Linked DNA regions of Homo sapiens: regions 1 and 2 are each linked to region 3. The links are contacts of gene promoters, found by promoter capture Hi-C in human tissues and cell types (Jung and others, 2019). All regions are on one chromosome and are shown on one strand. The core of a region is centred on a gene start or on the middle of the fragment in contact, and the rest is flanking DNA. Distances in the headings are between cores, read along the strand shown.

What was found. Contacts are between HindIII fragments. The study calls those that stand out against the background at their distance.
Region 1: a fragment that was not itself captured here is called in contact with the fragment with the promoter of UNC80 in region 3 in 2 of the 25 tissues and cell types used here (dorsolateral prefrontal cortex and hippocampus).
Region 2: a fragment that was not itself captured here is called in contact with the fragment with the promoter of UNC80 in region 3 in 1 of the 25 tissues and cell types used here (dorsolateral prefrontal cortex).

Annotation. Positions count from the first base shown.
Region 1 is chr2:209,427,454-209,431,662 of GRCh38, reverse strand. The region is part of intron 1 of MAP2 (microtubule associated protein 2); the gene reads right to left. Among named protein-coding and RNA genes, the nearest start is that of MAP2, 5.5 kb to the right of the region's middle. The HindIII fragment of the contact is 5,532 bases long and covers 1-4,209 here.
Region 2 is chr2:209,410,321-209,414,081 of GRCh38, reverse strand. No RefSeq gene overlaps it. Among named protein-coding and RNA genes, the nearest start is that of MAP2, 12 kb to the left of the region's middle. The HindIII fragment of the contact is 3,407 bases long and covers 452-3,761 here.
Region 3 is chr2:209,769,752-209,773,925 of GRCh38, reverse strand. It overlaps UNC80 (unc-80 subunit of NALCN channel complex), which reads right to left and starts at 2,094. Exons shown (of 65, transcript NM_001371986.1): 1 at 1,762-2,094; 2 at 784-832. The coding sequence starts at 1,853. RefSeq lists an enhancer at 34-535. The HindIII fragment of the contact is 3,928 bases long and covers 1-3,487 here.

The DNA of each region.
Region 1 (4,209 bases), core at 947-3,446, 340 kb after region 3:
TGAATTATTGAGTCTCAGGCCTGCTTCCCCTACTAACTAGATAAGGAAAGTCACTTAAATGGTCACTGTCCCAGTTTACTTATATGTACTCCACAGGTTCACAACATTTGCCCTTGATAGTCTCTTTTCCCCATCAAACATTCTCTAATTCATATATAAATAGCAAGTCTTGAGAATTGATGCCTTTTCAGTGATGGGGCAGAGGCACAGAAATAAAGAATGTATTTGTAACTCTCATTTGTAAATGTAAAAAATAATTAACTAATTACAAAAAGAATGCATTTAATAGCATTTTAAATATTTCCAGATATGTAAACACACAGTCCTTCTAATCCAGTAATTAACAGGGCTACAAAAAGTTATTCCATTACATAAATCATAAATATGTTAGGAATAAAAAGATTTTATTAAAAATCAGTTTATCCATTTTAAATGCCATTTTTTTAATGGAGAACTTTGCATTCCTATTAATACCCTCATGATACCATTTGGGAAGCGACTAAATAAGGCAGTAAGAATGTCCAGGATTGTACAAAGCTTCATACTGCCAGTTTTGATATTGACCACTCTCAATATGGTGCTACTGAAGACAAAAGAAGAAAAAGCATGAAATTCGTGACTGAGTTTTAAAGCTATAAGAACTTAAACAAATGAAAAAAACTGTTAAGTTTCACCAAAGGCCACTCAGTGCTCTGAAATAATCTTCATCCCGAATAAGGCAAAACTTTAGTCTGAGATACAGTGGCCAAAGATCTTTTAAATAAGTCCTAGATCATAGTCACTTGGTTGTTTTATAAGAGATTCAGGTTTCAGTAGATGCTTAGTATTTTATGTTCTCCTAGCAGCAAAATTCTTAAAAGTTCCATCAGTCCTGGTTTCTGATGTTTAAGTGAAGATAAAGGGCATTTTCCATGTAAAAGCAGTGTCACCTGAACTTCTTAAAAGATACATTTAAGTAGCCAGTATTCCAACTTAGGACATTTTGATCAACATGGAGATGTTTTAATTTTGAGCACAAGATTTAGCTTTACCATTTGATTTCAATAATGAACAATGGAATCTGGACTATCTTAATCCAAACAGAAAAATACAGCAATACTTTAATATTAATCTAATTTGATTTCATTAATAAATACTTGGTCATTGTTTTCCCTATTAAATTGTATTTAATACCAACTGTTCTCATGTGGAATCAACTGATTGCATAATAATTGATTTCACCAATGAAAAAAGCAAATATATAAAAGTCTAACTCTATCTTAGAAAGTAATTATACACAAACACACAAATACCACCACTGCCACCATCATGTTAGCCCTTGTGAAACACCAGGTAGACAAAATTAGCAGGCTGAGAAGTTGTTACAAGTATTATAATTCCATGTTCTCATCCACTAAGTAAAGAAATTGTATGCTACAGATTGAAAATTTTGTTCAAACAATAAATAAGTTTTGTAGCAAATTAAAGAATCAAATATTTTCCTGGCTATACTAGATGACCTATTAAGATAAAAAGAATGAATAACTGAATCCTAAAAACTTTTTTGCTTGTTTTTCAAAGTGGGCCAAAAGGACGTAGTGAATCATATAAACAACAATAAAAAATAGGCAGCCTATTACTTAATACATTATTTTGCTCAAAAAGGTAGACTCTTAAGGGAAGAGAAAATTACCAATTTGAGAGGTACAATACCCAAATAAAATAGTAAAATGTCAAAGCCGAGCATTATTTAATTGCCTTAATACCAATCAAAATGATACCATATTATTCATTTTAAAATTGATGAACACTTTCTCATGCCAATTCATTATGTAATTTCAGCACCATGCATTAACAACACAATGTTGTACTTTTAAATTGTTGTAATGCAAAGGTAGTAGCCACCTAAAATCCATTACTACTTAAATAAATGTAAAGGGTTCATATTGAAATGATGGTTTTGTCTCAAATAGAGTCAGTTTGTATATTTACTTGTGAGTTTGCTTTAACTGTAAAGGACCTAGACAGTTAAGCGATGAAATATCTCATGATATTCAAGCACTGTATTTTATGGTCATTTTTGAGGTAGATTAAGATGGCTAATGATGATGCTATACAGAGAAATGTAATTAGGAATATTTTACTTAAAATTAAATTAATTTAGTTCAACATTTACTGATTGCTCATAGAGTAGTTCATACTTCACTTAATAGGTACACATTAGTGGAACTAGTTAACTAACATAAAGACAATGGACTGCCTGACACATAGTAACTTTACTAGTTGTTAAAAAAAAAAAACTAGTTGAACCATGTTTTATAGTGTCTGATGAACAAAATAATAAAAAGTCAGTTGGCTAGCCAAATTTTTTATTTAAAAAAATTCGTTGTATACATGTATTACTTTTGTCTGAAAATGTCTTTAAAGTAATTGCCGGGCACGGTGGCTCATGACTGTAATCCCAGCACTTTGGGAGGCTGAGGCGGGCGGATCACGAGGTCAGGAGATCGAGATCATCCTGGCTAACAAGGTGAAACCCTGTCTCTACTAAAAATACAAAAAATTAGCCGGGAGCGGTGGCGGGCGCCTGTAGTCCCAGCTACTCGGGAGGCTGAGGCAGGAGAATGGCGTGAACCCGGGGGGCGGAGCTTGCAGTGAGCCGAGATGGCGCCACTGTACTCCGGCCTGGGCGAAAGAGCGAGACTCCGTCTCAAAATAAATAAATAAATAAATAAATAAATAAATAAATAAATAAATAAAATAAAATAAAGTAATTCAAAGAAGGCTAATGAGGACACATTGAGGCGAGCAATTACCTATAACCTAAGGGAACCTGAATAAACTTGGATACAAACTAATCGGGAGAAATAGGGTAGTAACTTTTCTTCTGGTTTTTAAAGGCCTTTTTGAGGTACAAAGCGTTATGAAAGATTGGTATACAAGGAAAAAACTGTTGAAGCCTAGGGGATATAAAAGCCAAGTTCAAAGAAAGGACCAAGATAGGGATGGAGCCTTGAGAAGGAGGAGAGGTTAGCATAAAACTTCATGTTAAATGAGAAATATAAATATAATGAAAAATAAATTTCAATAAGAATATCAGGCTATAATTTCATTTTCTAAAGACCAATGTTTATTTTGCCAATACAAACTGAAAGAAAGGAGCAATCTAAGTAAAGAAGAAAAGAAAAGGGAAAGAGGAGAATGGAAAGAAGACAAAAAAGGAAAGAAAAAAGTCAAGGTATGTGATCTTAAAAGTAAATTATTTGCTCATTAACATAACAAAAAGCAAAAAAAAAAAAAAAGAAATTTGCCCCCTCTAGTGTGTGTTTTAACGGAAAACAAACTGTCTAAAACTTTCCCCAACTTCCACAATATAAACTTAACAGTAGACTGAAAGAGGATCCTGAGCTCTTTATTTTGTCTAACTTTCCATAGAATTTTACTGAAATGTTTAAGTAAAATGTATTACAGTTAAAGTACTACCATTCAAAGGAAAGCTTATGTCTTGAACAGGAAAGATCAAAGATTAGATTCAAAGTGTTTTTCATAAAAATTCATCTAATTGTGTTCACATCATTTTAAAATTCTGAATTCACCTAATTCACTGTAAAACTCCTTCCAATAAACATACTGTATAATTTTTATAAGGAAGCACCATGGCCTTAGTTCAAAGACATGACAGGGGAGGGATGGGGACAAAATATGTTGAAACAGAAAAACAAAACATTTATTCCTTCTTCACCCTCTTAGACAAAAAGGCTCATCTCTACCCTACATGGACAGCTTTTAATAGCTGAGAATTTGCTTTCATTCCACATCTTCCTCTACGCCCACCCACCTACCCACCCACCCAAACCTTCATACAGACTGTCTCCCTTGACTTTGGCCTTTTGTGTACTACATATTAATTTGCAGACTTTTAACTGCTTTTGGTGCCTAGAATCATTTTCTGCAATTGAAAACTGAGAATATCAAAAGTTGTTTCTCATAATGAATAAATAAATACATAAATGGTAATAAGTGCTCTCCTTAATGAAAAATAAAGGCCAAATTTGTATCAAGAGAGTAACATTACTGAAACCAAAATAGCTAGAGAACAGTAAGTCTAACATCCAAATGTCGAATTAAAAAGAATGATGTGAAGGGAGGGAAAATATGGTGAAATGATCAAAATACAGTCCTTACATGAAAAGGTCTAGATTGAGTAGATAAAGGTAATGGCAATAGTAA
Region 2 (3,761 bases), core at 906-3,405, 360 kb after region 3:
AAAAATAGATATCTTTAATATTAAAAGCTTTTGCTCTCGAAAAGATTCCGTTCAGAAAAAAATTGGCAAGCCAAAAACTGGGAGTAAATACTTCCAAATCATTATGTCCTATAAAAGACTTGTATCCAGAAATTATAAAGAACTCTCAAACTTAATAATAAAGAGATAAACATCACATCCTACCCTTGCAAAAGGCAAAATATTTGAATAGACACTTTACCACAGAAGATATAGTAAAGGCTGTTAAGAACAAAAAAGGTGTTAATATCAGTAACCATTAGGAAAATGCAAATTCAAACCACAATGACATACCACAACATACACAATAGAAAGGCTACAAAAAAAAAAAAAAAGAGAGAGAGAGAGAGACAATATCAAGTACTGATATGGGTGGGAAGAAAACTGGAATTCTCATACATCACTGGTAAGAGTGTAAGATTGTACACCCACATCTTAGTCTGTTTTGTGCTACTGTAACAGAATTTCTGAGACTGGGTAATTTATAAAGAAGAAAGATTTATTGCTTACAGTTCCGGAGTCTGAGAAGTCCCAAGTGGAGAGGCTTGCATCTGGTGAGGGCCTTCCTGACACATCATTCTCTACCAGAAAGCAGAAGGGCAATATCACACATAGGGGTTGGGGTGGAGGGTGAGGTGCTGAACTCTTTTTTCATCAGGAACCCACCCTCTTGATAATTAACCCACTCCTGCAATAACAGCATTAATTCATTCATGAGGGCAAAACCTTCATGAGCTAATGACCTCTTAAAGGTCCGACCTCTCTGCACTGTTGCATTGGAGATTAAGTTCCCAACACATGAACTTAAGGGGCCATACTCAAGACATAGCGATCTACTCTAGGAAGCAGTTAGTAAGCTTCTTAAAAATTTAAACATGCACTTGCCATATGACCTAAGTATTCTACTCCCAGCCATCTACCCAAAATAAATGAAAACATATGTCTACATCAAGTTGTTCATCTCAATGTTCATAGCAGCACAATTCGTAATAGCTGAAAATAGGAATTTATCAAAATGCCCATGAAGTAGTGAATGAATAAATAATTTGTGATATATTTCTACACTAGAATAATGCACACAATTTAAGGGACAGAATACTGATACATGCAACAAGTGGGATAAAATTCCAAGAGATTTTACTAAGTTAGAGAAATCAGATGCAAAAGACTACTTACTACATGAATTCATTCGTATGAAATTTAAAGAGGCTAAACTGTTGAAACAAAATGGATATCACTGGTTGCCTGAGGCCTAAGAGTGTGAGCAACAATTCACTATAAGCCTCATAAGAGAACTTATTGTGGTCATCCTAGTGTTCTAAGACCATATTATTGTTATGGGGGCACAATCACCTAAACCTAGTAAAATGCGTCAAACTATACACTAACAATAGGTGAATTTTATGGTGTGTAAATTATATCCCAATAAATCTGTAAAGAAACAATATGTACCTACTGCTGTTGAGTGTTTAAAACTGCCAGTTGTATAAATTTGCTTAATATTGTTTGTATCAATATTCTTACATATTTTCTTTTTATTCCAGCCCAACCCCTGTGCTTTATTCCATTTATAAGTGGAGGCAAGAGTGTTGAAATATCCGACCAAAATTGTAGATTTGTCATTTTTCTTTTCCATTCTATTAGATTTTCCATCATGCATTTTGAACCTCCAAAATAATATATATATGCAAGTAGGATTTTCTGTCTTCTTGCTGAATTGTTCCCTGTAAAATGGTTACTATCCCTCCTTTCCAGGTAATATTGCTTTTCTGAAGTTTACTTTGTGTAATATTAATAAAATAATTTCAGATTTCTTTTGGTTAAGATTGACATAGCTTATCTTTTTCATGTTTTACTTTTTAAATTTTGTTATAATTCAGATATCACAAAATTCACTCTTATAAAGAGTACAATCCAGTGAGGTTTAGCATATTTACAGTGGTACAACCATTGCCACGAATTTCCACATTTTTATCACCACAAAATGAAACTCTACAACCATTAGCAGTCCACTTTCCATTCTTCCTTCTCCTCAGTCTCTATGGATTGGCTTATTTTGGACATGTCATATCAATGGAAGCATACACCATGCAGCGCTTTATGACTGACTTCTTTTACTTGGCATAATATTTTCAAGGCGCATTCATGTTGTAGCAAGCATAAGTACTTCATTCCTTTTTTATGACTCAGTCGTGTTCTTTTGCATGGCCATAACACTTCTGTTTATCTGTTGATAAAGAGTTGATGCACATTTGGGTGGTTTCCACTTTTGGGCTATTGTGAATTGTGCTGCTAAGCACAGTACTATACAAGTAGTTTTATGGACATTCTCAATTCTTTTGTGTGTATACCTAGGCATGATATTGCTGGGTTATATTTTAATTATATTTTTAACAATTTGAGTAATTGCTAAAACTTTTCCCAAAACAGATACACCATTTTACATTTCCATAAGCAATGCATGAAGGTGTCAATTTCTCCACATTCTCATCAACACTTGTTATTGTCTTGTTTGATCATAGCTATTCTAGTAAGTGGGAAGTGGTATATTATTGTGATTTGGGTTTGTATATTCCTAATGACTAATAATGACTAATAATGTTGAGCATGTCTTCATGTGCTTATTGGCCACTTATATATTTTATGTGAAAAATTGTCTATCCTTTGCCTATTTAAAAAATTAGATTATCTATAGTTTTATCGTTAGTGTTCTTTACACATTTTGGATACTAATCCTTTATCAGACATATGATTTGCAAATATTTTCTCTGATTCTATGAATTCCCTTTTTCACTTTCTTGATTCTCTCCGTTATAACAAAAGTTTTCAATTTTTATAAAGTCCAATTAATTCATTTTTTTCTTTGATTGCTTGTACTTTTGATGTTATTTCTAAAATAATATTGCTTAATTTAAGGTCATGAAGATGTATACCTTTTTTCTTCTAGGAGTTTTATAGTTTGTACATTTAGGTGCTTGGTCCGTTTTGAGTTACTTTTTATAAGATATGAGATACGAGTCCAACTTCATCTTTTGCATGTGGATAACCAGTTGTCCCACCAACATTTGTTGAAGACGACTCTTTCCCCTATTGATTTGTCATGGCATACTCTTTAAAATCAGTTGACCAAAACTGTGAGGGTTTATTTCTGGACTCTCATTTCTATTCCATTGAGCTATGTGTCTATTTTTATAGGAGCAGCACACTGTTTTAATTACTGTAATTTTGGAGCAACTTTTAGAATTAGGAAGTGTGAGTCCTCCAACTTTGTTCTTTTTCTAGGCTATTCTGGCCACTTTAAGTTCCTTGCATTTCCATATGAATTCTAGGATCAGCTAGTCAATTTCTGTGACAATAACACAAAAAGGAAGTTGCAACTTTGATAAAGATTGCATTGAATCTATAGATCGGTTTGGGGGCATTGCTATTTTAACAATTAAATCTTCTAATCCATAAACACATGGTGTCTTTCCATTTATTTAGGTTTTTATTAATTTTTTCCATGTTTTCAGTATACAAATCTTATACTTCTTTATGCTTCTTTTGTTAAATTTATTCCTAAGTATTTTATTCTTTTTGATGCTATAGTAAAAGGATCAGTTTTCTTAATTTTATTTCTGGATTGTTTTTTGATAATTTATAGAAATTATCAACTTGATTGATCTTGTATTCTGCAAACTGGCTGAACTCATTTATAAGCTTCGATAGGTTTTTAAAAATACTTAGTATTTTCTACATTCAAA
Region 3 (4,174 bases), core at 845-3,344:
TGTAGGGATATAAGATTCCCTTAGAATCTCAGGACAAATGCATTTTATTTTGTATAAATATTAACAGTATTATTTTCACAATTATTTTATATTATTCATTTTTAGAATTGGAGAACATATGCAAGACATAAAAGTGCAGAAATGCATATATTTTGTTCAAGTAGTTCTTTCACAGGCACTCCATCATATGAACTTCCACTATAAGTCTCAGTTTTGTTGATTAAGGATTCGACTTCACACTTGCAGGTGGCAAAAACACCCTACACCACCTGGTTCCCTGTTATCTCTCTGCCTTCTCTTCTACCACTCGATCCCGCCCCACCCTTTCACTTATTCCCCAGTAGGTGCTAATTTCCTTTAACATGTTTCCTCTGCTCTTCCCTCAGCTGTCCTTCCCTCCCTTCCCCTTGTGTCTTTGGCCAAGGTTCACATTAATGGGTAGATAAGCCTTATCTATCCATTCTTATAAAACTCCCCTCCCTAGTGCTTCCTAGTATTTCTTTTTGCTTAATTTTTCTCCATAGTGCTTACCACCATCTGGCTTACTATGTATTTACTTATTTGTTTGTGGCTTGTCCCCTTTCTACTAGGATGTAAACACTGTATTTGTTTTTATCATTGTTCTATTCCAGCACAGAGAATTGTGCCTGGCACAGAGTGGGTGATCAATAATATTTGCCAAGTGAATTAATATATATAGTCCGTTTGATTTAAAATCTGTCTTTGGGTTCAAACCACCACACAGAATAGGGAAATAATTATTAAATGGTGAAAATCACATACCACACAAGAAGCTTCATATTGCTTCCCCAGTTTGGGCCTCAAAAATGCACTGAAAAATTAATAGAGATATTTGTTAATAAACATAAGTAAAATTATTATTAAAGCATCCTTGTGACGTATTTTTCAATGAATAAGACAGGATGCTATGAAATTCAAATTTCATGCTTCCTTATAGCTTTTTAATGAGCAGGTGTTGAACAGCTGATGACATTTTCTTTTACACGTGTAATTGCATATATGAAAGAGAAGTGGATCTCGATGGTTTTCGGTATCCACTCTTAATCTGAAGACTTCTAAGATTTTAAATCGCCAGTGGTCAGAAGTGGTGCATTACTTACGTGTACAGTCATAATAAAAACTGAAAATTGAACACGGCTTATGGGTCATAATTTCCAGAATCTAATATCTTATCTGATAAATCTCTAAAATAACAATAATAAAGAAAACCTTTTCTGTTTATTGGAATAGGTGTCAGGCCTTTCCGGGGTTGTGGGGGAAGGTCCCTTATCACAAATCCTCAGGAGATTTAACTGGGGAGATTAATCTGAGCAAAACGGTTAACAAGTGGGCATAGCAGATATTCGCCAAACAGGAGCTGGAAAAACAACAGGTCACTGGGCTAGAATTACAGCAGGAGATGGAGGGGGAATTGGACGCAGGAGCACAACCAGTCATAATTATCTAGCTCCCCGCCCCCTCTTCCCAGGCTCTCTGCCCTCCCACCCCCTAAAATAATGTATACATTTATGCGACAACTGCCAATCTGCTTGTCGTCAAACTTCACTGAAATATATACATATATATACATATTTTAATGCGTGTTTTTAAGCTGGTGCAGAGGGCTTGTTTTCCAGCCCCAGAGAGGGAGCTGCAGGCTGTGGCGCGGCCTCAGCGGCGGCGGCGGCAGCGGCGACCCGGGCGGCCCCAGGAGCGCCCCCAGCCCAGGGCGGCCCGCGGTGCGCCCTCTGCGCCCCTCACCTGGTTTGCCGCCACAGGAAGGTCTGGATGGGCAGGGGGATGCCGCGGCCGCCGTCCTGCTCCTGGCCCTCGGAGCTCTTCCTCTTCACCATAATGGTGGCTCCCGGGAGTCCTACTGCAGGACCCAGCTCTGTCTCCTCGCTAGCCGCCGCCGCCGCCTCCTCCCGCTGCTCCCAACTCTCATCCCCTCCTTCCCCGAGGCAGAGCCGGCTCTCTCCGCCCTGATCCCCCGTGCCTCTCCCCTCCCCCCACCCCTCCCCGCGCGTGGAACATGGCTGCGGGAGGAGGGGAGGGCTGGAGGAGCCGCGGAGCGAGGAGGGGGGCGCTCGGAGCAGCGGTCCGCCTCGCCGCCCCCGCACCCGCTCCCTGCTTTCAGCACCTCCCACTGTGGACAGCGGCCCGCGCCGGGCTGCACGGCCGGAGAAGCGAATCCGGGGCAGCTTGAGCCGCAGGGGTACGGCCCAAGAAGTCCACGCTCCGCATCGCAGGCGCTCGTCCCCTGCGCGGCCTCTTCAGCCCCCGGAATTCGGCTTTCCCCGCTCCGAGCTGCACTCAGGAGTGTCCCCTGTCCTGCTTTCCAACCTCAGCATCCAAACTGTCGCCGTCTGGGTAGGAGGAGCTTTGGGGAACCGCAGAGCAGTCGCTAACCCTGGCATCATTCTCACCTCCAGCAAGGAGATCAGGAGTCCAGGGGTTAGCCGGAGGAACACATGAAAATTATTAGAAGTGTAAACCAGGAAGGTGAGGCAAGGTTGGCAAGTGAGAGGAAGCTTGAAAGATCTTAGATATGAGAAGTTATTTTTATATGATAACCACAAGAAATAAACCTTGTTTGTTTTCCTAAAGCAGGAATACAAAGTTCCCAAAGTAACCAGTTGTGGATATCAGTTAATTGCAAATTGAGGAAGAACATTTGAATCATGCTGTGAGGAAATGTGGTTTATTACAGTCCATTAAATGCACTTGGGTGATCCTGTTCGCCCCCAGTGATAGCTACCATTTTCCTTCAGTTGTAATAGTCAAATGCTTATATGTTACATATATTAATATTTTATAGTTGGATTGCTGTTAGATATATTATCTAGGAGTAAAACAAGTAGGCCGGGGAGGGGGGTGAGGTGGGGTGAAGCAATCGGAATAGTAACTACCTGCAATTCCTCCTCCTCCCCCTCCTCCTTCTCCTTCTTCCTCCTCCTCCTCCCCCTTCTCCTCCTCCTCCTCTTCTCCTCCTTCTCCTTCTTTCTTCTTTCTTGTTCTTTGACGGAATCTCGCTCTTCAACCAGGCTGGAGTGCAGACGTGTGATCACGACTCACTGCAGCCTTGACCTCCCAGGCTCAAGAGATCCTCTCAGCTCAGTCTCCCCAACAGTTGGGACTACAGGTGTGCACCACTACTCCCAGCTAATTTTTTATTTTTGTAGAGATGGGGGTCACACTATGTTTCCCAGGCTAGTCTCAAACTCCTGGGCTCAAGCAATCCTTTCACCTTGGCTTCTCAAAGTTCTGGGATTACAGGCATGAGCCACCATGCCTGGCCTCATCTTTTAGAGCAAAGATATTGGTGTAATCCATGAAATGAAGAATCAGACTCCAGGTCCTAATCTCAACAGATGTAATATTTCATATATAATTAACAGCATAGTATATATCAATATTTTTTGCCATAGAAATAAATTCTTCATTTACTTTCTTGAAGTTATCTTTTATTATGAATCTCAAAAATATGGATCTTATGATCTCAAATATGGATCTTGAAACAAAGAAAGATTCTAAGTACAGTTTACTCAAGGCATATTTATTGAGTGTATTTTATATACTCATAGCTCTATGGAGCTATATGGACTCTTGCTCACAAGGAAGTCTGAATATTAAGAGAAGACAGACATGAAAAGAGAAAAGAATCATGGGAGATACGAATGCAGATTCAGTTATGAACAAAAGGTCAAGGCAGAAATTATGTGTAGGAATCAGATGGAGACTTTGTATGACAGGCTAGAAAGTTTTCCTAGAAGGCCTTTAAGCAGAGAAGTAGAAACTTCATATCCATTTAAGTGTGAATGACATGACAGGAATGTAGGGATTATTTGAAACAGGCAAAAGTTGTATTAGGAACCCCAGTATGAAGATTAGAGAAATGTTTTATGAGATCCTGAACCCTGATCATAATAGCAGAACTACAGACAAGGGGGTGAGTTTGAATAATATTGCAGAGGTAGAATTAATAGGATATGATGACCAAGTGGGTATGGGAAAAGAAAAATAGCACATTGGTTAAGAGCTTAGGTCTTGAGCCAGACAGTTTTGGCTCTAGCCCTACCATTAACTAAATATAATATCCTAGAAAAGTGAAAAAACTGCTAAGATTTTCAAAGAATACCTTCCCCTATAGAGATGTTGTGAGGATTGAATGTTA